5 separate regions of the Homo sapiens genome follow, and all the other regions are linked to region 3. The links are contacts of gene promoters, found by promoter capture Hi-C in blood cells and fetal thymus (Javierre and others, 2016). All regions are on one chromosome and are shown on one strand. Each heading gives the region's core, a stretch centred on a gene start or on the middle of the fragment in contact. The rest is flanking DNA. Distances are from core to core; before and after follow the strand shown.

Region 1 (2,700 bases), core at 138-2,637, 6.7 Mb after region 3:
ATATTTGCAAAACTGCACAGGACTTTAATACTTTGCAACAGCAAAGGTTGAAAAACAAAACGGTTAAATTTCCACATCAAAACAGGTGAAATGTTTCTGTTCATTTTCTTCTACATTTGGAAAGTGCCTGATCCACAGTGACACGCTAAACTTCAGTTCCCTTCCCCTCATCCTTGCAAGTGTACAGAACTGTAACTAAATATTTAGGCAATTAGGGCAAGCAAATTGCACAGTGAATTATGCGGTAGCTTCTAGTATAATAAATTTTCTTACCAACCAAACAATGCTCAGTTGCTTCTCTTGACAACCTGTTTGCATCGTCAAAGTTTAAATGTAACATATTAAAACTATTACTCTTTAAAAAATCATTGAAACTTTTTTGTGTATAAATAAAAAAATAGAATAAAAATAAATAAAAAATAGAAAAAAACCCATGAAAAATGTTTGCACATGGGGTAAAGCATGTAAAAGGGGTAAAGCATGATAAAAACCTTCGCTGAAGTTTCCCTGCTCACACATTACTGTGTGCACGTCTAGTCTTTTTCTCATTCAGGCATCATTTGTTATTTGTCTTTTCCAGTTGAGGAGGACACTTAATACCGTTTCGGCAGCGTTTCAAATCCGAGTCAAATATAGCCTGAGTGGTTTTTTTGTGGGTCCACCTATCAGGGCCTGTGAAGAGTGTTCTTGGGGTTAAGAGTTCTAAGATAGAAAACTCAGCTTATGCTGTTACCCGCAGGTTTTAAAGCAACATGATACGGCGTTTGAAGCTTACCTCACACCGGTGAGGTAAGCGTCCAGTCATCAAATGACCCTTTTTGACGTCCAAGAGTGACAGAGCCTCAAGCACTCCTGGGGACCGGGCTGACTTTTCTCCACTGGCTTGGTTGGGAACTGGCTTCTTCGGAGCTGTGTAGTCTTAATTTGCTTTGCTGCTGGCTGGCTGACAGCTGATGGGGGACTCCTCAGGACGGACTCCCTTCCAGATGCACCCATCTCCATCCTTCTCAACTCCCCAACCTTTGTCCTCCCCACTCTTCGCTCGCGCGGCGGTCTGAGACCACCAGGACCAGTTTCAGGGGTTTCCTTCTCCAGCGAGACTTGGCAGAACAGGCTTTAAAAGCAAAGGAGGCAGCGGAAGAGTAAGAAATAACTATATTCTAAGAGTCATAATAAATGGCAGTACATAACTGCGACACGACACCGAGCAGCCTAAGCTGGCTGCGGAGGCCACAAACACAAGATCCTAACCTCCCGGCCGACCCGCCCCAACAACTACCCGCCCAGGGTACGGTCACGTGACGGGGGAGCGGCGCGCGCCGACCGCGGCGCCAATTGGCGAGCGGCTGGAGCGCGGGGTTTCATGGGAAGGAGTTGGCCCGGCTTGTCTCTCTGTCAGTGGCGGCTGCTGCCTGCTCTGGAGGCAGGCTGGGCGGTGGCGGCCGAGACTGGCGGGGGTGGACGCCCGGGCCGGGCTGCGCCCGCTTCTTGCAGGTAGAACGCTCAAGGCGAGGGCAGTTGGGAGGGCTCTGCAGCGGGGAGGCATGCTGAGCTGTGCCCCTGGGAAATAAGCTGCGGGTTCCCCGCTTGCCTCTCCTTGGTGCCCCCGCCTCCTGCCAAGTGGCCTAGAGCTCTGCGGCGGCTGCTAGTCAGGCTGCGCGGTGGTCCGCGCAGACCCAGGCTCGCCGCCTTGTTCCCTGGATTTCCCAGCACACTGGCAGTGGTGGCGCTGGAGTCTTGAAACCCTTGTTTCCCCTCTAGGGCTGGTAGTTTCTCCAGCTCGGTTCTAGGAGATTCCGGGTGGTGACTGGCTTGAGCCCCAGCTCTTTGGCCCACTTGTGTCGAGCTTATCTCGACACAGGTGGGGCAAAGAGGTCAGAAGGTCCCAAACTAGCATTTCCTACGCTCAGCTGTCCGCTTTGAGCGTTCTCTCCGCTTCTCTTTCTGAGTTGTGCGGAGGCTCCAAGAGTTAGAAAGACCAGAAGGGACTGAAAACTGTCAGTGTCATGCTGCCGGGCTCTAGCGTGTGGGCGTGGAGTACGTGCTACTTAGAGAAGAGACTCTCCAACCATTGTCCTTATTTCAGGGATGGTGGGCTGTGGGGTGGAGGGGAAGGGCGAAGGTGCATTGTATCAGAGGCGTGGTAGGAGGAGAAAAACAAATCTAAATTCCGTCAGTTCATAGTTTACGGATTGAGAAAGAGTTGAAATTGGTCAACTCAGCTTTGCTGATGGTGCTTTCACAGTACTAAGCAAGACCCGTGAATCACTGAGTTTTCCGTGTTCTGCTTTTCCCAGTTGGCCTCCGGTGTGTGTTGCTCGGTGTCTACTGTTTCCTCCTTTCTTTATGGCCTGGGTGTCAGCATTGACAAAATTGACTCTATTCAACAGCGGTTTGGTGGGTGTGAGTAAGCTTGGTTTCAGGAATATGTTCAAACTGGCAGGGAATGCTCATTTCTTTTCCTCAGCAGCCCCCAGAAGACCAAGTTGACTTTTAACACATTTTCTTAAACAGGAGTGGTGCGTTTAAATTAGAATTTTAAGGTTGTCTGTTATCTATTGAGATCAGCTCAGTAATGATGTTAGTAAACTTATATAGTGTTTATATGTTATATAAACAAGAAAATACAAGAAAAGGAGAAGTTATATGGCTATTAAAAATATATGACTTCACATAGAAACATTTATAATCAAATAGTAA
Region 2 (2,700 bases), core at 15-2,514, 7.5 Mb after region 3:
ATTAGTTGTTTTGGGAGATGGAGAGAGAAGCATCTATTTAATCAATGCGTTCTAGACCTAACAATTGTGATGTCAATCAAACATTTTGTCCACCATTTCCATCATGAGTAATCTGAACTGTGAGGTTTTGCTGACATAATTAGTGTTACACTACAATGGCACTACTACATTACTGTTACTATATGGGGACGGTACTTTCATTTTAAGTAGGAAAGTGTTAATAATTTGGCTTAATGTTTCTTAACTAAAATTAGTTTTAAAAGAGGACTGAGTTGGCTTATACACATGTATGCGGTCCAGAGACCTACCTGTTAAAATGTCAATGCCATTACAATTTCACTTTTATGCCAGATATCATTCTTGAACTTCAGGCTCATTAACTCTCATACTATCCCCCAAAACCTTTCAACAATTTTGAGAGTGTATTTTATGTTAATATATAAACTAGTTCATAATTTTGTTCCAGACTAGAAATCAGTATTTAATAAATGGAAAAAATAAGACACTGAAAATCTTTTATTGAATAATGTAAATTCTCACAGAGGCCTCTGATCATACTTTTCAACTTGTGCCTATTTATTGAATAACCAACATCCTTACAGTTAATATTAAAATCTTTAAGTTGTGTGGGGTTTTTTGGAGGGGAGGGATGGGCAATTACCAGCAAACTCCGCCTCCCCCAAACCTCACCTAACCCGAAGCTCCCCGCCTCAGGCTCCCGGGGAGCCAAGGGGTGGGCTGAGGAACGCAGCCTACTTTTACCCACCTCCCTACCTAGTGCTGGGAAGTGACGGAAACGGAGACACCCGGCTCCTGGGGCTGGGCTCGGAGGACCCATCCTGCTTTCCCTCTAGCAGCCTTTCCGGAGCTCACCACCTTTCCTCCCCTCACACCGCCAAAGCCCTGCCTAGCCCTTCACCGCCGCCTGCACCCGCGCCCTCCTCCAGCCGACAGCCAATCACAGTCTTCCACAGCTCCGGGTTTACAGAAGTAACGCTCCTTGGGCCCTCTGGTCCCGCCCCCTCCAGAACTGCTTCCCGCCCTTCGGGCTCCTTGTCCAATCATGAGCGCCCGAGTGCTCTTTGATGCCCGTCCCCTCTACCCGCCCTGCCGAAGACCCGCCTTCTTCTCCTTAAGCCTGACGGAATCACCTGACTCGGAGGCGCTCCCTCAGAAGGAAGGCAAGAAGGGGCGTGTGGGTGAAGGGGAGGGGCGCCAGAAGGAAGGTGGGGATGCCGGGAGCGGGGCGAGCGGGCGGGGGTTGTCAGTCCGATCTCGCGAGAGAGGACGGAAGCCTGTGGGAGCCCGTGGCCTTTAAAGTGCCGTTCAGCCTTTTCCTCCAGGGGTGCTTTGTAAACACGGCTGTGCTCAGGGCTCGCGGGTGACCGAAAGGATCATGAACTAGTGACCTGGAAAGGTGAGTAACGATGGGCAGAGGTCAGCAGGGCTGGAGACTGTAGGGATACGGAGAAAGAAGGCGCTAACATGGCGACGTCGCTCAGCACAGTCCCCACCCCCCGTTTCCCATCACCTCGGGTGCTCCTGACGTGCTCCTTAGCCCTTGGGGCGATTGTGGCTGTGCTGCCACCTCGGCGGCCCGCGCGGTGTGGGCTTTGGGAACCTGACTGGCTGGGCCGGACCGTTAGGTAACCAGCGTTCGTTGTTCCGGCCCCTCCCTCTCGCGCGCTTTCCTAAGGCAGAGGAAAAAGGAATAACGGCTCCCTCTTAGACCCCTCCCTCCGAATTATCTTCACCCTACTTGGGTCAGTTCAGAGGTCCTCGGGGCGCGCGTCGAGTCAGCCGTGTGCGCAGGGAGACCTCTCCCACCCACAGTCCTTGGGTTGGGCGGGGAGAGGGCCCACTCTGGTCTCCCCACCCAGTATTCAAGCGATTGAGGACCGTGTATTGGTGATGGTGGCGGGGAGGAGGATCGGGAGGCGCGGCTGAAAATAGAATCAGGGTCCCTGGCTGCGGTGCAGCTTGAAGGAAAGAATGGTGTGGAGAACCTAGGAGCTGGAAGTCTCGGCCTTTTCCGTCCTTTCCGCCACCCTCACAATCCCGCTACCCCCAGCTTTTTCCCGGTGGGGCGGGGCTTAGGTGTGGGTGCAGACTGATTCTGGTATTTTCCCTTATTTTTTTTTTTTTAAATCTCTGGGTGGACAGCAGAGCGTATGTAAAGAAATAATTTGCTTTTCATCAATGCCCTAGGGACCAGGGCCGAAAGGGAGTGTGTGTACGTGTTTTCTATGTTCGCTCGTTTAACCGAACCTAGGAGGAAAAAGAGAGGAGGAGCTGGGAACTATTTTTGTGCCCCTAGGTAGTATAAAATTGGCTTTCTTTAATGGAGAGTCTTAAAACTGGTGAGGCCAAGAGCAAAACTACTGTGAATATCATGGAGTAAAAGAGATTACTCCTGATGGACCTTAGGCATCAGAAATTTTAGTGAAAGAAATGTTTCTCTTAAAATTCAACACCTATTTTAAATAGTGATGTAAAGCATTTCTTTACATGTACCTTCAGGTTTTCTAATGCTTTCCTGGCTATTATTTAACTGGTACTAAGGGATTGACTAATCCCTAAATTATAATGTGAAAGTTTAAATTTCTTAGAGGTTTTAAATTATGGAGACGGTCACAATGCATGCATTTAAGATATACATTTAAAATCAGAACAAAAACTGACTTTCTTTGAGCACACTTT
Region 3 (2,700 bases), core at 141-2,640:
GCTACAGGTGCTTCCTCTTTCTACCCAGTTATAGCGTTGCCTGTAATACCTCTTCCTTTTAGCTACTTCTTTACCTCCTAAAGCTGTCTAATTTTCATTTTCAGCAGAATTCACTTGTAGGAAATGTCCTTGGGAGGGACTAGAAGGAAACATAGGGTTTTTTACTTCTCATATAACCCTACCAGAAATGACAGTGAAATATATTGTTATAATAGACAATCTACACAGCAGTCGATCTTCTTCCCGGAGTTTCCTCAGAAGGTGCTTATACTGAATTTAAGTAGAGGCCATTTTTTAAAAATAGTAGAAAAACAATTGTAAGTTACCAGTGTAATTTTATTGCAAAGTTCATGTTTGGTGTAAGTAGAAACAAAACACAAAAAGAGAAGGGAATCGGTTATTTAGACATACTCTCTGCAGGGCAAAAACAATCATTACTTCATCATATCACATTTCAACCACTATATTTTAGTTCCAAAGAGATCGTAATGCTTTGAAAAATCTAACGCTCCTCGCACCTCATTTCTGTTTTTCATTTAATCCTAAATGTATATTTAAAAATTTTTCTCTTTACCTGTGAATGGTCTTCAGCTCATTTCTAATACTTCCTTTTCATTCCACAAAAATATACCTTTGAAAAATATAATGATGTAGAGATTAACAAGTATCCAAACAAGAAAACAACCATCAGAAAAAGAGAGGGCATAGTCTCAATCAACACTTTGGGATAAGATGTTTCTCGCCCAGGGGTTGTTCTCAGCGTGGGTGTGGCCGAACTGCCCGTGGCCCGAGCTACCGGGCAGGTGGAAGCGCCAGGTAAATGCAAGGCGCAAGCTTTCGCATTGCCATCACTGCAGAGTGGGAGAGGGGAGAGGGGTAAAGATGAAGACACGGGGGAACAGGGCTGTTAAGTGTTGCTGGTGTCTGAAGTCTCAGGTCGGACTTAGGGAGAAAGTGTAAGTAACTGAGAGGGAATCGCTGGGCAGAGGAAGGGTGGTGTGAATAACAGGGAGGAGGAAGGTGGGGAGCGAGAACACAATATCCAGGTCTTAAGAGCGCACAGGAAGGGAGGTTCAGGCGCTCAGCCATTCCGCCCCTCCCTGACCGGAGGGCCCAGGCCACCACCGGCTCCAGCAAAGCCCTAGCCCCGGGCCCATGCCCACCTTGCCATCGCGGGGTCGCTTCCTGTAGCTACTCCCCCATCCTCAAACCCTGGCGGCGGACCCCGCCTGGCCGAGCCCAAGCACCGCGTGCAGGAGAGAAGCACACGCACTCTCCGACGGCCCAGCCGCGGCGCACGGGATTGGTGAGGTGCAGCCACACCGGCGACTACCAGCGCGCGGCCGGTACCGGTAGGTTCCTCACGCGCCGGTCTCCACGGCGAGCCGGGGCGGGGCCTGGCGCGGAGCATTGTGGGAAAGGCGTGGAGGACGCTGCCTGGGGAGACCCGCTGCGGGCCCAGCGGGCGCTGCGGCGGTGGGGTGGAGAGGGCGGTGTAGGTTTAGGTTGACGTGGCGGTGTGCGCGGGATCCGGCTCCGGCTCCGGCTCCAACCCGGAGCTGAGGGAACTGCCCTGGCCAAGCAGCCCGCGCCCCCTCACCAATGCGGCCGGCGCCTGCCGCGGGCGGGGAGGGTGGATGGCGAAGCCCGCCTCTTCCTGCTTCCGTTGCCAGGGTGACGGGGAAACCCAGAGGGTGGGTTTTGGGGTTGAGTTCCCTGAGAGTCTTTTAAAGGGAAGACGGAGCTTTGGAGGATTTGTCTGGGTGATGGGTGGGTGAGACCGAAAGGCGAAATTTGGCGGAGAAAGGAGAAGTTGCCTGAAGCGACACTGATTGCAGTATCAGGCTAGCGGACTGAAGAGGCAGTAGGAAACTTGAAGGAAATTAAAACATTTACAATTTTGTGTAAGCGTGTGTATCAACAAGCATTTGAGACTTCTACAATATTTTCTGGATTCTGAGTCATACAAGCTAGAAACTGGGGAGTTATCGTTGTTCTCTCTTACCTTGATCTCCTACTGCTATGGTACAGGAACTGCATTTTGTCCCACAGCAATATAACAATTGAAGTGGTTATATTTACTACATTTTCTATATTTAAAAGAGAAAACCGAGCCTAGAGGATACCTGCTTATAACATCAACCCTAACATGAAATAAGTTGTGATTGGTAACAGTTTCGGGGAGTAAATCAAGTGTCAGCTTCTAAAAACTTGGAAAACTACACAGGATCTATGGCTAAGCTAATACTTGGTAGGAAAGAAGAGGAAGTAGAATGAACAAAGGCAAACATTAGAAGCAGCCTGATGTAATAGTAGTTAATATGTCTCAGGAACTGGTCTAAGCACACATGTAGTAACTCATTTAGTCCTCCAAATAATCTTACAAGATAGTGGCTCCTATATCTATTTCCCATTTGAGGAAACTGAGGCAAATATTTGAGAGCTAGGATTCACATCTAAGCAACCTGGCTTCAGAGACTATGATGTTAAGCATTATGACACAGTGTGTAACCATTTTGTTACACACTGTAACAAAATCTTAAAGTAAATTGAAAAACAAACAGAAAACTGGAAGATGAAGCAGGGACCAGATCACAGACAGGTTTTTATACCAAGATGAAGACATAGATTTCTATCTCTTAGGTGATGAGGAAGCTTTTAAAAAAGAGACTGAGATTGTATTTTAGATCATCCTGGCAG
Region 4 (2,700 bases), core at 182-2,681, 7.0 Mb before region 3:
ATTTTTCTTAACTTTTAGGTTTTAATTTTTCTTTTTTCCCTTGTTTAGGCCAACAGTGCACCCTAGAGAAAATGTGAGTTATTTTCTCTTCTAGCAGTTAAGAAAACAGACTCCAGTGCCAGATGTCCTGACTTCTAATCCTAGCTTTGCTTTTCCTAGTTGTGTGACCTCCAAAGCACCCAAACTCTGTGGCCCAGTTGCCTGTAAAATGAGGACAGAAACTATTTCATGGGATTTTGAAAGAAATTAATCTACAGCAGGTGCCTGGTACATAGTGCCACTTTATCATTATTGTTACACATAAATGAAATTTTTGAAAAACATAAGTTCCAAATAAAAAACCTCAACCATATTCTGGTAATTATTTACTTATTTATCTGTATCCACCTCTAGACTGTACTCTGTGGCTTCCCAACATGTTGTTATGGGATTTACTCATCTTTTATACCCAGAGCTTCACAACGTGCAAAGTGCAGGTATATATGCCAGCCCTGTACAACAGTGGATTCTAAGGTCCTTGCTTACTAAAATCTTAAATACCAGCAGGGGAAAAGCCTGACTCTTGGAATAAATCTGTCCAATGTTCAAAACAAAGTTCACAAACCAATAAAAGAAAAAAAAAAAAAAAAGCAGGTGCAAGACTTTGAAAACATACCATGCTGAATTTCATGTACATAGTAAGGAAGGACAACATAATGCATTATGAAAATAGGATGGTTTAAGGCAACTGAATATTTACCACAGCCTTTTTTTTTTTTTTTTTTTTTTTTTTGAGACAGAGTCTCGCTCTGTAGCTCAGGCTGGAGTGCAGTGGCGCGATCTCGGCTCACTGCTACCTCCGCCTCCCGGGTCCCAGTTCAAGCAGTTCTCCTGCCTCAGTCTCCCGATTTTTTTTTTTTTTAATTGTAAAAATAAGCCAGCCCCTTTCTTCCTAGTGAAGTGGGAGAAACGGTTTACACTGTCCGATGAGAAACACTTCCGTTCTTTGGTAACCCTGCTAGGGGGCGCCGCTAGATTCCATCCTATTTCTCCGATGAAAGTATCAGGTACCTCACCCCTAAGTTTAGATTTGATGATAGTTCCCTTAAAAATGAATGACGAATAATCTACCCCATCCTTTTCTCACAGTAGCAACCAAATTCCAGCCAAGGGCAAAAAAAAAATTTCTTTTTAATGTAGCTTAGTGTTTGGAACTTGATGTTGTGTAGTCAGACAAACCTGTATTCGGCCTCCGCTGGATCAGTCACTAGCTGTGTAATTTTACAGAACTCTCATCACCTGCAAATCTGGGGGAAATGCAGGTGCGCACAGAGAGCGTTTTGGGCAAAGACGGCCTTTAAGCTTTTCTTCACTAAGCATGCCGCTCGCTAGCGGAACAGCAGCCAGCTCTGGACGGGACCTTGCACAGTTCCGATGACATCACTTCCGGGCGCCAGGTTCGGGCTTTCTCCTGCAGCGATAAGGGCAGTCGACAGTCTTTAGTAGGGAAAGGAGACAAGTGCTAGCTACTGCCGCCCAAGTGGAAGGTGGGTGAAATTGCTCACTCTTCACCCCACTGACGCTTTTGCGCACCTGGAAAAGCGGTTCCAGTTTGCGCCCGTCGCCGCCTTACAGCCGACAGGAGACCAGCGCTACCCAAGTCACGTGGGTTCAGCCTGCAGCTTTCTTGGCCCGAAAGGGTAGTGCTTCGTACAATCCTCCTTGTCCAGATTTTGTTAATGCAAATCTAATTCCTCTAGGTTGTGTCTGTCTGGGCTGCACTGCCCGCAACTGCCTTCTGCAAATAGGTCGCTCATCTCTAATCCCTGGGATGCCGTGTCCCTTTAGTGTGGTGGAGAAAGGCCCTGCTTTAACACCCAGAAAGTTTTAGAACGGATGATCTGGGGGCATAAAATTAGGTGCTTCGCAGTGTGAAAATACTAGTGTGCTTTAGTGATGGGCTGCTATTATTTTGGGGGAAAAGGATTTGGGAAGATCCTTGTTATGACAAAACCTGTAGCAAAAAGTGGAGATTTAATTCCAAAGATTGCAATTAAGGATAAAATAGGTGTTAGGTTGCAGTTGGCGTGTGTGTGTTTATGTTAACTCTTGTTTTTGAACCAAATGATCCAGTTTTATTTTGAAAGATGTTTTTAGGAGATGGAATACATTAACAGTATTTTTATCTGTTCCATCTGCCTTTGTTGTTTGATTCTTTTTAGAAAATCCACATTTTGTCTTAATTTTAGCTGTCAAAAAATAAATAGCACTTTTCAGAGGACTCTATCAATTATTGTACTTTATATTAGCTGTCTTAATAGTAAGTCTTTTGGTAGGAACAGCATGCAAGTAATAATAATACTAAAAAATTTTATATCTGACCCCTGTTTTCCCCCTTGGAGAACATTATATTCATTCATAATATTATTTATATTCCCATGTTGCTATAGCCTTTACAAACTTTTGGTGACTTTTACAAACTTTCCTGTAATTCTGTAAAACTATATATTGAAAAATAAGCTGGCTAATGTCAGTTGCAAATAATAAGTTGTTTCTGTAATTCTTTTTCAGGAATTATCTATAGAGTAAGTATGCTAATCTTGACTAAGACTGCAGGAGTTTTTTTTAAACCATCAAAAAGGAAAGTTTATGAATTTTTAAGAAGTTTTAATTTTCATCCTGGAACACTATTTCTTCATAAAATAGTATTGGGAATTGAAA
Region 5 (2,700 bases), core at 97-2,596, 6.7 Mb before region 3:
CTCTTTCAGTCATGCTTGCATTACCTTCAACAACTACCTGTCGTACACTCATATGCAGAATATTGTGGGGGTGGGCCGGGCACAGTTGCTCACTGTAATCGCTGCACTTTGGGAGGTTCAGGTGGGCAGATCACTTGAGGCCAGGAGTTCCAGGGCAGCCTGGCCAACATGGCGAAACCCTCTCTCTACTAAAAATACAAAAATTAGCGGGCGTGGTGGCCCGCGCTTATAATACTTGCTACTCAGGAGGCCGAGGCACCAGAATTGCTTGAACCAGGGAGGCGGAGGTTGCAATGAGCCTAGATTGAGCCACTGCACTCCAGCCTGGGTGACAGAGTGAGATTCTGCATCAAAAAAAAAAAAAAAAAAAAAAAAAAGAATATTGTGGAGGCTACAAACTTTCATAAAATACTATCTCTACTCTTCTAAGGCAGAAAGGGTTTTTTGATTTTATTAAGTGCCACCCTACCTAAAGTTATTTGAAAACCTGACAATACAGTAATAATGATTACAGCTACATACATTGAGCCATTATGTGCCGGGCATTGTTGTCTGTAGTTTTAACATATTGAGGCATTTAATCCTCCCAATAACCACGTGAGATGAACTAAATATTGTCCCCCTTTACAGATGATGGCAACTGAGGCAAAGATTAAGAAACTTACAAAGGTTTCATAATGTAAGAAGTGGATTTTGAAGCCAGGGAGTGGTTTGGTTTCCAGCTACACTGAGAAAAGAGACCAAGTCTTAGCGTATTTTTATCTCATAAAGAATCTAACATCTGTTTTCATGTAAAGTTCCGAAAAGACTGCACTATGCTTCATGCACTATGCTTCAGGAGTGAGGAGTGGGTAGAAAAAGCGGAATAGTTTTAGGTTTTAGTCACTCCAAAACATGATTCTGTACGAAAGAGTAGGTACTGCAAAGGTAGTGGCATACACATCCACCCCTGGACCATTTTCCAGCCGCCCGAACACCTTCCAGATCCTCGACACGGAGACCGGCTCCAGGGCCTTTATCTACCTGCAGGTAAACTGTCCAGGAATCGGGGGACGCAACCCAATCTGCAGTGGTAACGGGACCTCCCAGGTACCCTGGGGATCCCCCACAGGCGCGTGCTCTACCCAAAGCCGATATCCGCCAGGCGGGCGAGTCCGAACGCGACTGACAATTCCTTCTCCCCGACCCTCGAGAAACTCACGCCCCGCCCCTCAGCCGACAAAGCGCGGTGCCCCTCATACTTAGAATCTGCAGAGAACACAGCTCTCCTAAAGTTCAACTCGCTGCCGCCACAACGAACCACGCGGATGTTCTCCTCCTCCACCATCTTTGCGCAGTAGCGGAATGGCCAATCTCTGGTCCCGCCCTGAACTTCCTTCGTTGAGCCGGGTAATAAGGCTGTTCCCAGCCCACAGAACCCACCCCCGGGCCCTTCTAGGCCTGAGACTCGGTGGTAGGACTCCGCTTCCGTGCAGGCACCTTTTGTGTGGGCAATGTCAAACTAAGACACTTGTAAGAAAAGGTGAAAGCAAAACAGAGATTTAGAGACAATCAGTTTTTATTATATACCTATACACAATTATTTAATACAGACATATTTCTCTCAGGCCTTGTCAACCTGACTCTATGGCTTTTTCCGCCAGAAGGGAAAGGTGGCGTATAGTGTACCACGTGACCTCCAGTCGTCCCACCGGAGGCGTCGCTTTCTAGTGTCTGTGGTGTCGGCGCTGCAGGATGACGCGAGCCTCTCGCGTCCCTGGTTTTCTCGGTCGCAGCGTTGAGTTATTGGGTGGAAAGGTAGCTTTCTCTTCCTTGTACAGCTTTTTGTTCCTCTCATTAGCCGTTCTTCTGTTCTTGTGAACATCGCTTAGGTTACTACAGAATCTCCACAGTCCTAGGGCCTAGCTTTCTTCCTTTGGAAATCTGGCTCCTACTCCGGGATTCTGGTGCATCTTCCGCAGCGTTCAGTGTAGCTGCTCGGGCTAATCTGACATTCGGCCAGTCCCGCCAGGTTTCAGGGCGCTGGTCTCTGGTTTCCTGAGTTTTACCTTTTCCCATTAGTGAATAGAATCTGTGGGTTAGGAACCCCTAAAATCTCAACATGTTTATTTTTGCCAGTTTATCTCCAGTTTTCCTTTGTAAACTTACACGTATCATATTCTTGGACCCTGTATATTATGTTGCCTATTTTGATTTCGCTTCTTGATTTGTGGATTTACCACAAAATTACCAAGGTCTCAAATATAGTCACATGTCACATAAGGATCTTTCAATCAATGCATATAACATGGTGATTCCGTAAGATTATAATACTGTGTTTTTACTGTACCTTTTATGTGTTTAAATACACAAATACTATTCTGTTACAATTGCCTGCAATATTGAGTACAGTAACATGTTGTTCAGATTTGTAGCCTAGGAGCAATCAGCTATAACGTACAGCCTAGGTGTGTAGTAGGCTGTACCATCTAGGTTTGTGTAGGTACACTCTGTGATATTCACACAATGATGAAATCACCTAAAATGCATTTCTTAGAACATATCCCCATCATTAAGCCACACATGATTATACCTATAAGTTTATTTATGGTGGAGAAATACAATATTCACAAAGGTCAAGACATATCCTGGGACAGCACCACTGTAAAAATCAGGGATAAATTTACTTTTTACTGAGGAGTCTAGCTTATTAAAGTGCTC

The links. The method cuts DNA at HindIII sites, captures the fragments that hold promoters and counts their contacts. A CHiCAGO score of 5 or more calls a contact.
Region 1: a contact is called between the fragment with the promoter of LNPK here and the fragment with the promoter of DNAJC10 in region 3, in 1 of 17 cell types (non-activated CD4 T cells). The highest score is 11.6, in non-activated CD4 T cells.
Region 2: the fragment with the promoter of ATF2 here is called in contact with the fragment with the promoter of DNAJC10 in region 3 in 3 of 17 cell types (activated CD4 T cells, naive B cells and non-activated CD4 T cells); the score reaches 7.1 in activated CD4 T cells.
Region 4: a contact is called between the fragment with the promoter of OSGEPL1-AS1 here and the fragment with the promoter of DNAJC10 in region 3, in 1 of 17 cell types (fetal thymus). The highest score is 5.5, in fetal thymus.
Region 5: a contact is called between the fragment with the promoter of WDR75 here and the fragment with the promoter of DNAJC10 in region 3, in 3 of 17 cell types (total B cells, naive B cells and total CD4 T cells). The highest score is 14.3, in total B cells.

The regions. Positions count from the first base shown.
Region 1 is chr2:176,000,954-176,003,653 of GRCh38, reverse strand. LNPK (lunapark, ER junction formation factor) reads left to right here and starts at 1,387. Exons shown (of 13, transcript NM_030650.3): 1 at 1,387-1,494. RefSeq lists an enhancer at 974-1,193. The HindIII fragment of the contact is 1,642 bases long and covers 773-2,414 here.
Region 2 is chr2:175,166,767-175,169,466 of GRCh38, reverse strand. It overlaps ATF2 (activating transcription factor 2), which reads left to right and starts at 1,264. Exons shown (of 14, transcript NM_001880.4): 1 at 1,264-1,417. MIR933 (microRNA 933) reads left to right here and starts at 1,758; the gene lies at 1,758-1,834. RefSeq lists a silencer at 1,246-1,315. The HindIII fragment of the contact is 6,773 bases long and covers 1-2,700 here.
Region 3 is chr2:182,714,947-182,717,646 of GRCh38, reverse strand. It overlaps DNAJC10 (DnaJ heat shock protein family (Hsp40) member C10), which reads right to left and starts at 1,390. Exons shown (of 24, transcript NM_018981.4): 1 at 1,164-1,390; 2 at 575-631. It also overlaps a transcript of PDE1A not described here. RefSeq lists a silencer at 998-1,157 and enhancers at 719-1,323, 1,668-1,737, 1,758-1,907. The HindIII fragment of the contact is 1,821 bases long and covers 837-2,657 here.
Region 4 is chr2:189,761,511-189,764,210 of GRCh38, reverse strand. It overlaps OSGEPL1-AS1 (OSGEPL1 antisense RNA 1), which reads right to left and starts at 1,431. Exons shown (of 2, transcript NR_102429.1): 1 at 1,219-1,431. It overlaps OSGEPL1 (O-sialoglycoprotein endopeptidase like 1), which reads left to right and starts at 1,419. Exons shown (of 9, transcript NM_022353.3): 1 at 1,419-1,526; 2 at 2,551-2,700. The coding sequence starts at 2,571. It also overlaps a transcript of ANKAR not described here and a transcript of ORMDL1 not described here. RefSeq lists enhancers at 744-1,490, 1,777-1,936. The HindIII fragment of the contact is 3,776 bases long and covers 1,344-2,700 here.
Region 5 is chr2:189,440,120-189,442,819 of GRCh38, reverse strand. It overlaps WDR75 (WD repeat domain 75), which reads right to left and starts at 1,346. Exons shown (of 21, transcript NM_032168.3): 1 at 1,242-1,346. The coding sequence starts at 1,327. It also overlaps a transcript of COL5A2 not described here. RefSeq lists enhancers at 901-950, 971-1,200, 1,221-1,350, 1,611-1,830, 1,851-2,010 and 1 more. The HindIII fragment of the contact is 5,353 bases long and covers 1-2,700 here.